Linked DNA regions of Homo sapiens: region 2 is linked to region 1. Evidence: promoter capture Hi-C in 16 types of primary human blood cells and fetal thymus (Javierre and others, 2016). All regions are on one chromosome and are shown on one strand. Each heading gives the region's core, a stretch centred on a gene start or on the middle of the fragment in contact. The rest is flanking DNA. Distances are from core to core; before and after follow the strand shown.

The links. Contacts are between HindIII fragments. The CHiCAGO score rates a contact against its expected background, and 5 or more counts as called.
Region 2: a fragment that was not itself captured here is called in contact with the fragment with the promoter of CNRIP1 in region 1 in 1 of 17 cell types (neutrophils); the score reaches 5.5 in neutrophils.

The regions. Positions count from the first base shown.
Region 1 is chr2:68,318,290-68,323,922 of GRCh38, reverse strand. CNRIP1 (cannabinoid receptor interacting protein 1) reads left to right here and starts at 3,974. Exons shown (of 3, transcript NM_015463.3): 1 at 3,974-4,701. The coding sequence starts at 4,523. The HindIII fragment of the contact is 3,613 bases long and covers 3,850-5,633 here.
Region 2 is chr2:68,882,609-68,888,615 of GRCh38, reverse strand. No RefSeq gene overlaps it. Among named protein-coding and RNA genes, the nearest start is that of BMP10, 14 kb to the right of the region's middle. The HindIII fragment of the contact is 3,782 bases long and covers 1,257-5,038 here.

The sequences.
Region 1 (5,633 bases), core at 2,725-5,224:
GCTTTAAAACATACAAAAAAAATTAGCTGGGCATGGTGGCACGTATCTATAATCCCAGCTACTCAGAAGGCTGAGGCATAAGAATTGCTTGAACCTGGGAGGCAGAGGTTGCAGTGAGCTGTGATTGCACCACTGCTCTCCAACATGGGTGACAGAGCTAGACTCCATCTCAAAAATAAAAGTAAAATAAAATAAAATAAAATGTAAAATGTACCAGTTAAGATCTCTAATGCTAAGACATTCTGAGGTAGGCAAAGGGAAGGAGTCAAGCACCTCATAAATCATTGACACTAATTTAAGAATAAAAATAAGAAATAACTCCTGCAGATGTTAAACTGTACCTGAATGCAAACATGAATACAAAGGAAAATACATTGTTAAATGTGCTGGTATTATATTGTGTATATGTGTTTGTGTGTGTGTATAACCCAAGCCCAGGACACATTATGACACATGACATAATTGAGTGTATACATATGTATGTGTATAACCCAGTCCCAGCACTCTTAACTACGTTATTTTCATATACATGCACACAACTATGTCCTGTGTCATAATTCTAACTGTTTTTGAACTCTATATTATGAATTCAGCAGAGACTGGAACAGCGAATATGGAACGGTTGTTAGCACAATGTCTTAGTCTGTTCATGCTGTTATAACAAAATATCTTAGCCTGGATAATTTATAAACAACAGAAATTTATTGCTTACGATTCTGGAGGCTTGGAAGTCTAAGGTCAAGGCACCAGCAAATTTGGTATCTGGTGAGGGTTCACTGTTTGCTTTATAGATGGCAAATTCCCGCTGCATCCATACATGGTAGAAGGGGGCAAACGACCTCCCTCAAGCCCCTTTTACAAGGGTACTACTAATCCCATTCACGTGGGCAGAAGAGCCCTTATGACCTAATCACCTCCAAAAGAACCCACTTCTTAATACTATTGCTTTGTGGATTCGGTTTCAACATAGCCATTTTGGGGGAACACAAGCAGCTGGGAGGCTGAGGCAGGAGAATCGTTTGAACCATAGCATGTGATTCCTCTGAATGACAACTAAGTCCATCGTTCACTTGGGCTCAATTTCACAGTTTTCAAAAGAATGATAATAAGCATTGTCCATTAGACAGACAATGTTTAAGATCACCAATCTGAGGTAATAATTAAAGAATCTACAATAAGACTGAAAGCACTAGATACCTTAAAAATATATAGCAAGAAATGAATTAATGCAGGAAAAAAAAGCCAAATACCGCATGTTCTCATTTTTAGTGGGTGCTAACCATTGGGTACCCATGGACATAAAACAGTTTTTCAACCCTTACTTGTCTCCCTCCCTCCCTGGCTAGTAGTCTTCATTCCATTGGTAACAATAGACACTGAGGACTTGGATGATGGGATCATTTCTACTCCAAACCTCAGCATCATGCAATACGCTCCAGTAACAAACCTGAATCTAAACTAAAAGTTGCTACATATTCAGCAAGTATATTTTTAAATAAAAATAGTTACAATGTATTGAGTGTCTCTATGGGCCTGATATTCTTGCATAGTTTACACAATTTCATTTGGTTCTATATGCATCATCTATGTCACCATCATCATTTTACAAATGAAGAAACTGGGGCTCCAAGAGACTAAAGCAGCTTTGCTCAAGGTCACTCAGTTTGTAATCCACAGATCTGGCAACACAAACACAGATCCATCAGACTCCATATTCATATTCTTTGCACATATGTATCAGTGATGATAAATTTTCCAATTACTTTTACATTTATTAATTTCATTTTAAGACATTACATTGTATGGTCCTGAAAATGCTATTCCTAATGGATATTGCCCAGCATTAGTAACACCTCGTATTTGAAAAGTAATTTATTTTTTTCAAACAATTTCCATTTCCTCATTCAATTCTCACAATGTTGGGAAGGAGGTATTTTAATCCTCATTTTACAAAGATGAAACATAAAGATGTTAAGTTATTTGCATAACGAAACTAAAAAGTGGCAGAGTTAGGTTTTTTTTATTTTATTTATTTATGAGATGGCAGTCTTACTATTTTGTCCATACTGGCCTCAAACTCGTCGGCTTAAGTGATCTTCCCACCTTAGCCTCCCAAGTAGTGGGGACTGCAAGAGTGCACTACCTAGCCAGGCTAGAACCAGAGTTTTTGTTTTTGTTTTTGTGTGGGTTTTTTTTTTTTTTTTCAGATGGAGTCTCACTTTGTTGCCCAGACTGGAGTGCAGTGGCATGATCTCGGCTCACTATAAGCTCTGCCTCCCCAGCTCAAGCGATTCTCATGCCTCAGCCTCCCAAGTAGCTGGGACTACAGGCATGCGCCACCACGCCTGGCTAATTTTTTGTATTTTTAGTAGAGACAGGTTTTGCCATTTTGGCGAGGCTGGTCTTGAACTCCTGGCCTCAAATGATCTGCCCTCCTTGGTCTCCCAAAGTGCTGGGATTCCAGGCATGAGCCACCATGCCGGCCTTAGAACCAGGTTTTAAAATGGAGTCATCATCCTCCAGGTCCAATGCTCTTTTTGATACACAGGTGGAAGTTGGCTTGAGATTGTGGGGTTGCTAAACAAAAGGTTGAGGAAAAAAGGCAAAATTTCCAAAAAGGCTTTTAAATGACCCCAAAAAGATACTCACCCTCTTTCCACTACTCATAAACCATAATAACCAACATTAAGTTTACTGTGTAACTCTCTCATTCTTTTAAAAGAGCTAATACAAACATACACATTTATATTCTTTTTAAATTTTCATTTTTCTAAAACACTAGAGATGCTACTTGCAATTAGATTTCTTTTCATCATTCCAGGTAAATCGCAAGGATCTAATTAATTTTAAAGATGTGAAAGAATTTACATATGGACATGATTAAGACCACAACCGTAAGTCAATTCAACAACGATTTCTGGAGCACCTACTATGTGTCAGGCACTATTTTGGCATGCTGGGGAAACAGCAACAAACAAAACAGACAAAATGCTCGCCCTCAGGCTTTGTTTCCCAGCCATCCCACTTTTATCATTAACAGTTTTTGCCTGTGTGTTTGCCAATGCAACCTATATTTCATTATTTTGATAGTTGTGTAACGTTCTATAGTGTGGGTATATAAGAATTTATTCAGCCATTTATTTATTGGTTAACATTTCATTTAGGTTTTATTTTTATTTTTGCAACCAATGTTGCAATAAACACCCATATTACATATATATTATATGTATAGCTTATTATTTCTTAAAAAAGAGCAGTCTAACTTGGGTAAACAAAAACTGCCAAGGAAACGCATCCCTACCCATTTGTTCTCACTAGCCCACTTCATTTCCCAGGTGTGCTCCCTGGCTCTGGTACTATCCATCTGGGTGGTGCTGAAGCAGGTGCTCTCTCTGCTCCGGGAAGCCATTCCCAGTATAGTCCTCACCCCCTGAGTCTCCCCTCGCTTCCAAAAGTCAGCTGTCTACCGACCTCTGCCACGAAAACTGTCTAATCACGCTTAATATGCAAATCTAAACTCTGCGGTGTCGCATATGGCCCCCTGCCAATAATCCTTTGACCCATCCCACCTCTTGGCCATTTTGTCACCAGAATGCCTTAGGCTCATGTCAGTTGCCTTTTACAGGGTTAATAGCTCACCCTTCAAAATCTGTGTAAATATATGTGATTCATTACATATATTTATGTATGTGTCATTTTTGGGACGAGCATACGTATAATGGAAATGTACACCCACAAGAAGATGTAGCTCCTTGAATATGGTTATTTTCTTCCTCTTGCATCCATTCCTCATCCAGCGTGGCTCCATCACGTGGAATTGCGCCTTTCCTCGGCCATTTCCCCTAAGCTTTGGAAAGACTCATATTTCCTGAAATTTAAATCACCGGCTAGCGGTTTCCTGTCCCCCCTTCCCGCCTCCCTTTACCCCCCCTCAGCCTCCTCCCGCCTGGCTGGCGCCGGATCCGCGAGCAGCAGTGTCCACCTCACGTAGCTGGCCGAGGCGGTATCCAGATTCCGGGGGTCTCGCTCCTTGGCATAGTGGTCGCTTAACTCCAGCGCCTTCCCAGTGCCTCCCAAACCTCTCCTCCTCCTGCCCGGGGCTGTTCTAGGAGGAGCCTAAATGTCCGCTTCCCCAGCTGAAGGGGATTGTGGTGCGTAAACAGGATTAACTCCCTCGCCCCCAGCTGCGCGGATCTGCGCGGCGGCCTGCGGGCCAGAGCGAGCCTTCGGGTGCGTGGAGGGCGCAGCACTGGAGCGGGGGATGGGGAAGCGCGCGGCCTTGGAGCCGTCTCTTGGGCCCGCTTCCTCGCCGAGTGGGGAGGGGGGCCACAGCCTAAGGAGCTGCTCCTCAAAAGCCCGGGCGGACGGCGGCGACGGCGCGGGTTCCTAGCGGCAGCCTCAGCTCCACCACCTCCCTCACCCTCCCCGCGCTTCCTCTCCGCCCCTCGCGCTCCAGCCACTCGGCCGCAGCCGGCGCTGTCCTCCGCCCCCCGGAGCCGCCGCGCCAGACCCTCGCCCAGACATGGGGGACCTGCCGGGCCTCGTGCGCCTCTCCATCGCGCTGCGCATCCAGCCTAATGACGGCCCGGTCTTTTACAAGGTGGACGGGCAGCGCTTCGGCCAGAACCGCACCATCAAGCTGCTCACCGGCTCCTCCTACAAGGTTGAGGTGAAGATTAAACCCAGCACGCTGCAGGTCGAGTGAGTGCGGGGCGCCTGGTGGCAGCAGGGTCCCCCATGGGGTACAGGCAGAGGACTGAGGCCCCCAGGACAGCCCGAGCCTCTCAAGGGCCTCTGGCCTCGCGCCGCTCCCAGCGGGCCCGGGGGTTGGAGGAAGAGGTCACTCCCTGTCCGCCTTCGTCCCCTTCCTTCCCTTTGGCTTGTATTCCTCCATTCTCGCTTCCCTCCACCCATCGCAGTGACCTCAGTGGGTTCTTTAAAATCAGTGACAAGAAGCCAGGGTTTTTGCTTGTCTGTTTCTTATAAATTTCTCCTGCCTTCTGTCCAGCCTTGGGCGCGGAACCGCAGGCGGTCGGGGTGGAGCAGATGGGAGAGGTCCGCAGGGTTCAGCCACCGCAATCCCAGCCCTCCTGCGCGCGGTCCAGGCGGCCCACAGGGTCTGCCCGCAAGGCTGAAGGAGGGAGAAAGGAGGAATGAGGTGGAAAGGCAGGGGAGGGGTGATTACTGGGGCTCCCTGAGGGATGCTCCCCACTCCCTTCGCCATTCAGTGGCTGGGACCCTGGGGTGGAGCAGCAGACACTAGTAAGAGAGCGGCCGCCCCTTCTCTGGCCTAGTTTCACGGTTTTCCATGCCGTATGCTGTTCTTTTTCTCCTGAGTTTTCTGTTCAGGCTGGTGATGGTGCCTGGGATTAGCAACATCCCCACAGCAAGAGGATGTTTTTTGGTTTATCCATGGCAGGGACGATTTCTTGCCAGCGACCGCTGGATAATGCACCCAGTAGACCTCTGGCGGGAAAGTGTGTGGGAGCATGCAGTAGCCTACCCGGAAGAACTGCGGGTGGAGCCCCTTTACCTCTCGTTTCTACCTACCAAAGTCTAGTCTGCAGAGAGAAAATAAACCAGCATTTATTGTATCTACTACATATGGTGGGCATTATTGCGGGGGTGGAAGG
Region 2 (6,007 bases), core at 1,898-4,397, 570 kb before region 1:
AATCTTAGTTCTGTTAGATTCTGACTATGTCGCCTGGGAAAAGTTATTAAACATCTTCAGGCCTAAGGTTTTTCATTGACAACAAAAGGATGCAGGGCTTCAATAAATGATCTGTCAGCACTAATATTCTTGGATTCTGTGCTTAGGTTATGACAGTAAAATACACCTTAGAAAATTCACTGTCTAGTTTATGATACAGTATTATCTGGAATTATTACCTAAAAAGAGTTAGGAATATTGCCCATGAAGTGATAATTCAGGCCTGAACTAAGGATAGATAATTTCTGTCATTTGTAGAATCCCCAGCACAAAGTGCAGAACCTGGGACACAGTAGGTGTTTATGTGTCAAACAGACTATTTACACAGTGCAAACCTTTATTTTAATGGAAGGAGAAGGTCAACTCTTGCGCCACTGACAGTGTTTTTAGTTAATTCAGTCCGTTTTTCAGGGATTCTCCCTGCTAATTTTTCTTCTTGTAGATACAAAGGAGTATTTTAATAATAAAAAGAAGCAATTTGAATATTTAACAATAAGAGATTCACTAAGCAAGTCTAGGGATATGCAAATAACTGGAATGTTATACAACAGTTTAATAAAGATTACATAAATGTACATTGGCATAAAAAGATATTTGGGTTATATCGGTAAGTTTAAAAAGTAGTTGACTAAACAGCTCCCAAAGCACAGGAAAAAGTCTGGAATATTACACATCGAAGTGCTTAAAGAAGTTATATATATTCATGGAAGGATTAAAGGTTTTCAAAATGAATTTTTTCTTCTGTTATTTTTAAAATCTTAATTGAGAAATAATTTGCACACCCTACAACACACCATTAAAATGTATAATTTGATGACTTTTAGTATATTTCCAGGGTTGTGCAACCATCATCATAGTCAATTTTAGAACATTTTCATTACTACAAAAAGAAACCTCATACCACTTAGCAATCAACCCCTGTCCCACCTCCCCCTCCAGCATCCCGCTGGCAACCTCCAATCTACTTTTGGTCTCTATAGATTTGCAAACGTTCTCCTAATTTATGTTTTACATTCAAATTTACAGCAATCAAGTTTGGTTTTCAGTAGACTTTGCCAGAGAGCCCATCCAATGATCATGCACCAAAACGACTATCACGTCACTATCTTTTCTGGACCAAAACCAGGGAGCAGAGTCACATCTACAATTAAGGGTGGTTTTCAGACCTGGTAGTAATGCTGCTTAGTGTATGGGTTGAAGTATGGGGATCCCAAGCTTCCTTTCACTTCTGATGGTGCTCTCATCCCTAACTGGAAAGAGAGCTTTGTACCTTCTAGCTCCTTTTATTTCTAATCTGAGATATCTTTTCATCTTTTGAAGAGAGGCAGAGATATAAATGAAACCCTCACCCTTAACCATTGTCATGTTATGATTTTCACAGCCTTGTTTTTCATCAAGAATCACTGATTTGAAGTCAGATGGTTTGTATATGACAGATCTAGTTCCCAAACTCAACCAGGCCAGCTCATAAATATTTACTATTCATGTTTTTAAAGTGATTGTGTCAACTTGCTCTTAGGTATCAGAAATGAAATTTTATGGCCAATGAAAATCAAGTGATTAAAAATAGTTGCCTATTTCCTAAAGTCCAAATATCTCAAACATATGAATTCATTATTCTAATATTCATTTACCATCTTCTATGTAGAGAGCCTCAAGTTTAGTGCTCAATTACACAAAGTATAATCCTGGCTTTCATAAACTTATAATGTGGAGGCTTGGTTCCAGTCTTTGGACACCATGGTTCTTTTCTCATTTACACTATAAAGAAGATTTATGATGACAACCAACATAAACCCATCTAGAAAACAAAGCATATATTAAGTTGATCCATGTGAAGTTATCAATATTCTACCATTTTTGACATCCAAAAGTTTCAGTCCAATAAAAAAACTTGCACTAAATAATGATAGCAATTGCTTACAATTTATCAGCAATTGGACCTAAAATATGTTATAATCACTATTTGATTTGGTCTCACAACAATCCCATGAGGTAGGAAATATTCTGATCTCCATTTTTTGGAAAACAGAGTCTCAGAAAGATTCAGTCATCTGTTTGAGTTGATATTGTCAATAAGTGGTCTTATTGTGTGATACATCAAAAGGTTTGTGTGATGCAAAAATACTGTGCTCTTAAATATTGTATTAAATAAAACATTAAAGGAGTTGGAGAGAAAATAAGGGCTACAAAGAAGTCCTTATTCAAGTTTCTAGCACAGAGTGTATGCTTAATAAGTGTTAGCAGAATACATGAGCAAGAAAGCAGAGAAAGGAATGGTTAATGCTAATAAAAGCCCAAGGAAATCCTTTCCATATCTTTTCTTGTATTCCAAAGGGTACAGAACAATCTTCCTCAAGCAGTAACATCTCCCAGCAGGCCCCATCTCCACCCCTTTTGTCAGTTATCTCTGATTCCTGTCAAGAATCTTCAACCTGTTGGACAAGAATCTCATTTCCACATTAAGCTCCTGTCTTTCCAATGGTGGCCCAAACAAGTCCTAGATTTCCAATCATAAACCAATTAGGAGATAAGATATAAACTCATGAAAATTGAATAGCAATATGAAACATCAGGAGAAGACATGTATATGAAATATGAGTGGGTCCTGCCCTAATACACTCCCGTCAGAATGCTATTGTGTCGGTGATTCAGGCTGTCTTTGGGCAGAGGCAATCTGCCTGGTAGGATGCCTCTGAATTTACTAACAATCACCAACTGGGAAAATGCCAACGTGTGAACCACTTGATTCCATCTTGTGATGAATACTCCTCCCCAAAGTTCTGTCATTGTAATCTGCCACCCTGCAAATTTTGCTTGCAAAATGTGTGCTGGCAGCGGCTTCTGCAGCTATTTCAGTATCCTGACATCTGTCGATGCTCTTTGGGCAATGGAATGATACAAGTCGTTCTCATAAGTCATTGGTATCAAAGAGCAATGCTAAGTTTTTACAAAACATTTTGGGAAGAGCATCATGAAGATGCCCATAAATGCTATCGGGCACTGCCTGCAGCATGAGCAGACCATTCGGTGAGAGGCGAGATATAGAGGAGCGTGACAGGGGATGAGCATGTGCAGCATGACTAAAATTAGTTTCCAATCTGAGATCTTCATTTCTGCCATCTCTGGAACAGCCATCATCATCCACATTTTTCCCCATACATGGCCCATTCCAAAATAATCCTCATTCAGAGGTCTAAATGTCAACTGCTCTGAAAAAAGGTTCTGAAATGATGATGATGAATAAATGTGTAACATTTCAAGCAGATACTCTGTGGAATCTTATCACCACTGCCAGAAAGCAGCTAGCAAGGGAACCATGGCCATATACTGAAGCAAGGCCTGGTTTCTGGCCTTGTAAAGCGATGTCTCGAATATGTATCTGCAGGTTGATACCTCATCTCATTGACAGCTTTCCATCCTGACCTGAAGTTCTCCAGCTTTCCCAGTGTTGCATGTAGGCAGCCCCATTCCCTGGGACGGTCAGAGACTGGACTGTTTAACCCAAGGGGAAATACTCTGTCCTGGAGTCACAGAGCACAAAGCTCTTCATCTGTTATACAGACCCAAGGATTTCCCCCAAAGTTCTACCACAGAAAGGCAAGGATTTCCCCCAAAATTCTACTGCAGACAAGAGAAGTCATTTTATATTTAAGGTCTTACAAAGTCTTATGTTACAATTACAAGAGGATAAAGTCTAGAAGCTAAACTAAATGACTGAAAAAATGGCTCAAATGATGACACTCTTGAGATTCACTTGGAGAGTTTAAAGGCAATTTTAAAAGAAAATGTGAAAGTGGAAAAATTCTAGTTTTTTATTTTATTTTATATAACATTAAAAATATATATGTAGTAAAATTATTAAATAAAATAGGTAAACGTTTGACTCTTCCATCTACATCCTTAAAAGGCATATATACAAAATTCCCCCAAAATCTATCTCTTTTTGAATTTTTTATTTGGGAAATGAGGGAATCATCTTATTTGGCGGTATATATGGAACTTAAGAAATATTTGTGGAGTAGTATAGGGAAGAGTCAGGTGTCATTAATATGAGAGAGATTGGGTGTTTGGGTGTCTCATTTTGCCTATTGATTTTAATTTTAAAAATACTGTCAGCAAAAATTCTATAGAATATTAAAATCTGCATTGTCTCTGAAATTACTAAAACCATTAACAAACCTACTAAGTTTAATGTACTGATGCTACCCAGCATGTTTTCCACTTGAAAATAATCCCTTGCCTATTTCCTCATTCGCTTTACCTTAGACCTAGTTTAATTGTGAGACCTCAGCCCCAATTCTCATGACAACTGGAAGGGGTATTTGACAAGGTTGTTATCTGGGAAGAATCATTTCACCATTTGGGGTTTTGGTTTCCCAATTTATATAAAGGATGATTTTCGCCTGCCTCACCTATTCTTTTAATTACTGTGAGGGTCAGATGGCATGAACATAAACTCTTCAAAGAGTAGTGTACTAACCAAGATTTCTTTCCATATGTGTGTGTGTGTGTGTATAATATATACATATATATATTAAACATATAAAACATGTAACATATATTTTAAGTTAACAACCTGAAGCACTCCAAGCATATATTTAGAAAGGGAGGGAGGGAAGGTGGAAGGAAGAACATAAGGGAAGAAAGGAGAAAGAAAAGGAGAAAGGAAAGAAGAATAGGAGGAAGAGAAGACATAGCAAATAAACTATTCATAATCCCATATTATCAAGGTTGTAAATTCCCATACTCTTTCTCCTTTACTTTGTCTCTGTTGAGTATGGTCATTTCATTCACATCCACATATCCGTGAGAGGACAGGCTGCAGGATATCTCAGATTTCTCCTGCTTTTGCAAGCTGCAGTTTTTTGTTAACCTTATTTTATACTGTTTTCCTTTGGCAAACACAGGTGCAAAAGGAATGGGGATTTAGTTGGAGTTCAGGATTCGACCTTCTCTTCTAGAGTGTATTCTTTTTCTTTAGAAAATATAATAAGCTTTATTTATAATATTTAATAATGATATTTAAATGATGTTTACAATTTCTATATAAACTCTTGGATACTCAGCATGTTTCAAATATACAACCTTAATTGATACTCAGCAATCTCTGTTAGTTTCTAGCTGTTATATTCCATAGTGGCATTGGTATTGTATGCTTCTACCTCATTGTGGTTAAAATATACTTTTATGAACTTGCCTGAGAATCCAACAACCAACATAATCACATAATGAGAAAATGTGTTCTGAGTTCCAAACAGCTGGCTAACAAATGAGTACCCAGAAGTCAAAAGTTGTATGGCATTTTCTAATAGCTACATTAGCCGACATAAATCAATTGACATATTCTAATGAATGGAATTCTTTCATTAAATAAGAATTAGCTATGTATTCATTTAATTGTTTAAACAACTTTTTCTAAGCAGTTTTCAAGAGCACCTGAATCACTTACAGATTAGTACATGATAAAAGACACAGAAGATACTAACTTTTAAAACAAGATGCCATTTAAAAGGGAGAATAAACAATTTAAAAGCCTGGAGCTGAATAGATGTGCACATTCATAATAACAATTATTAGAACTAAGGCTTTTATGCCAACCACTGTTATCCCCACTTCACAGATGACAAAAATACAGTTTTTGAGGGGTTAAGAAAAACCACCTAATCAGAGCAATGTTCAAGTTTTCTGAACACAGGGTAACACTCTGAAGAGTAGAAACCCTAGGTTAGATTGTGTCTGATTCTGGCAGTACATTTTAAATGATATTTTTGGGTTATGAAGGTGAAAAGATAAATATTCAAAGTTTAAAAAAATTTTCCTGAGAATAAAAAGAATAGAGATTTCTCTACAGATTCCATTCACAGCTGAAGTGGGAACACCACTTTGCTGCCTGGATAATAAGTATTGAAGTTGCTGTAAAGGAGACCCCCCAAAGATTGACAGCTTGTTGAGAACCCTGTGGATG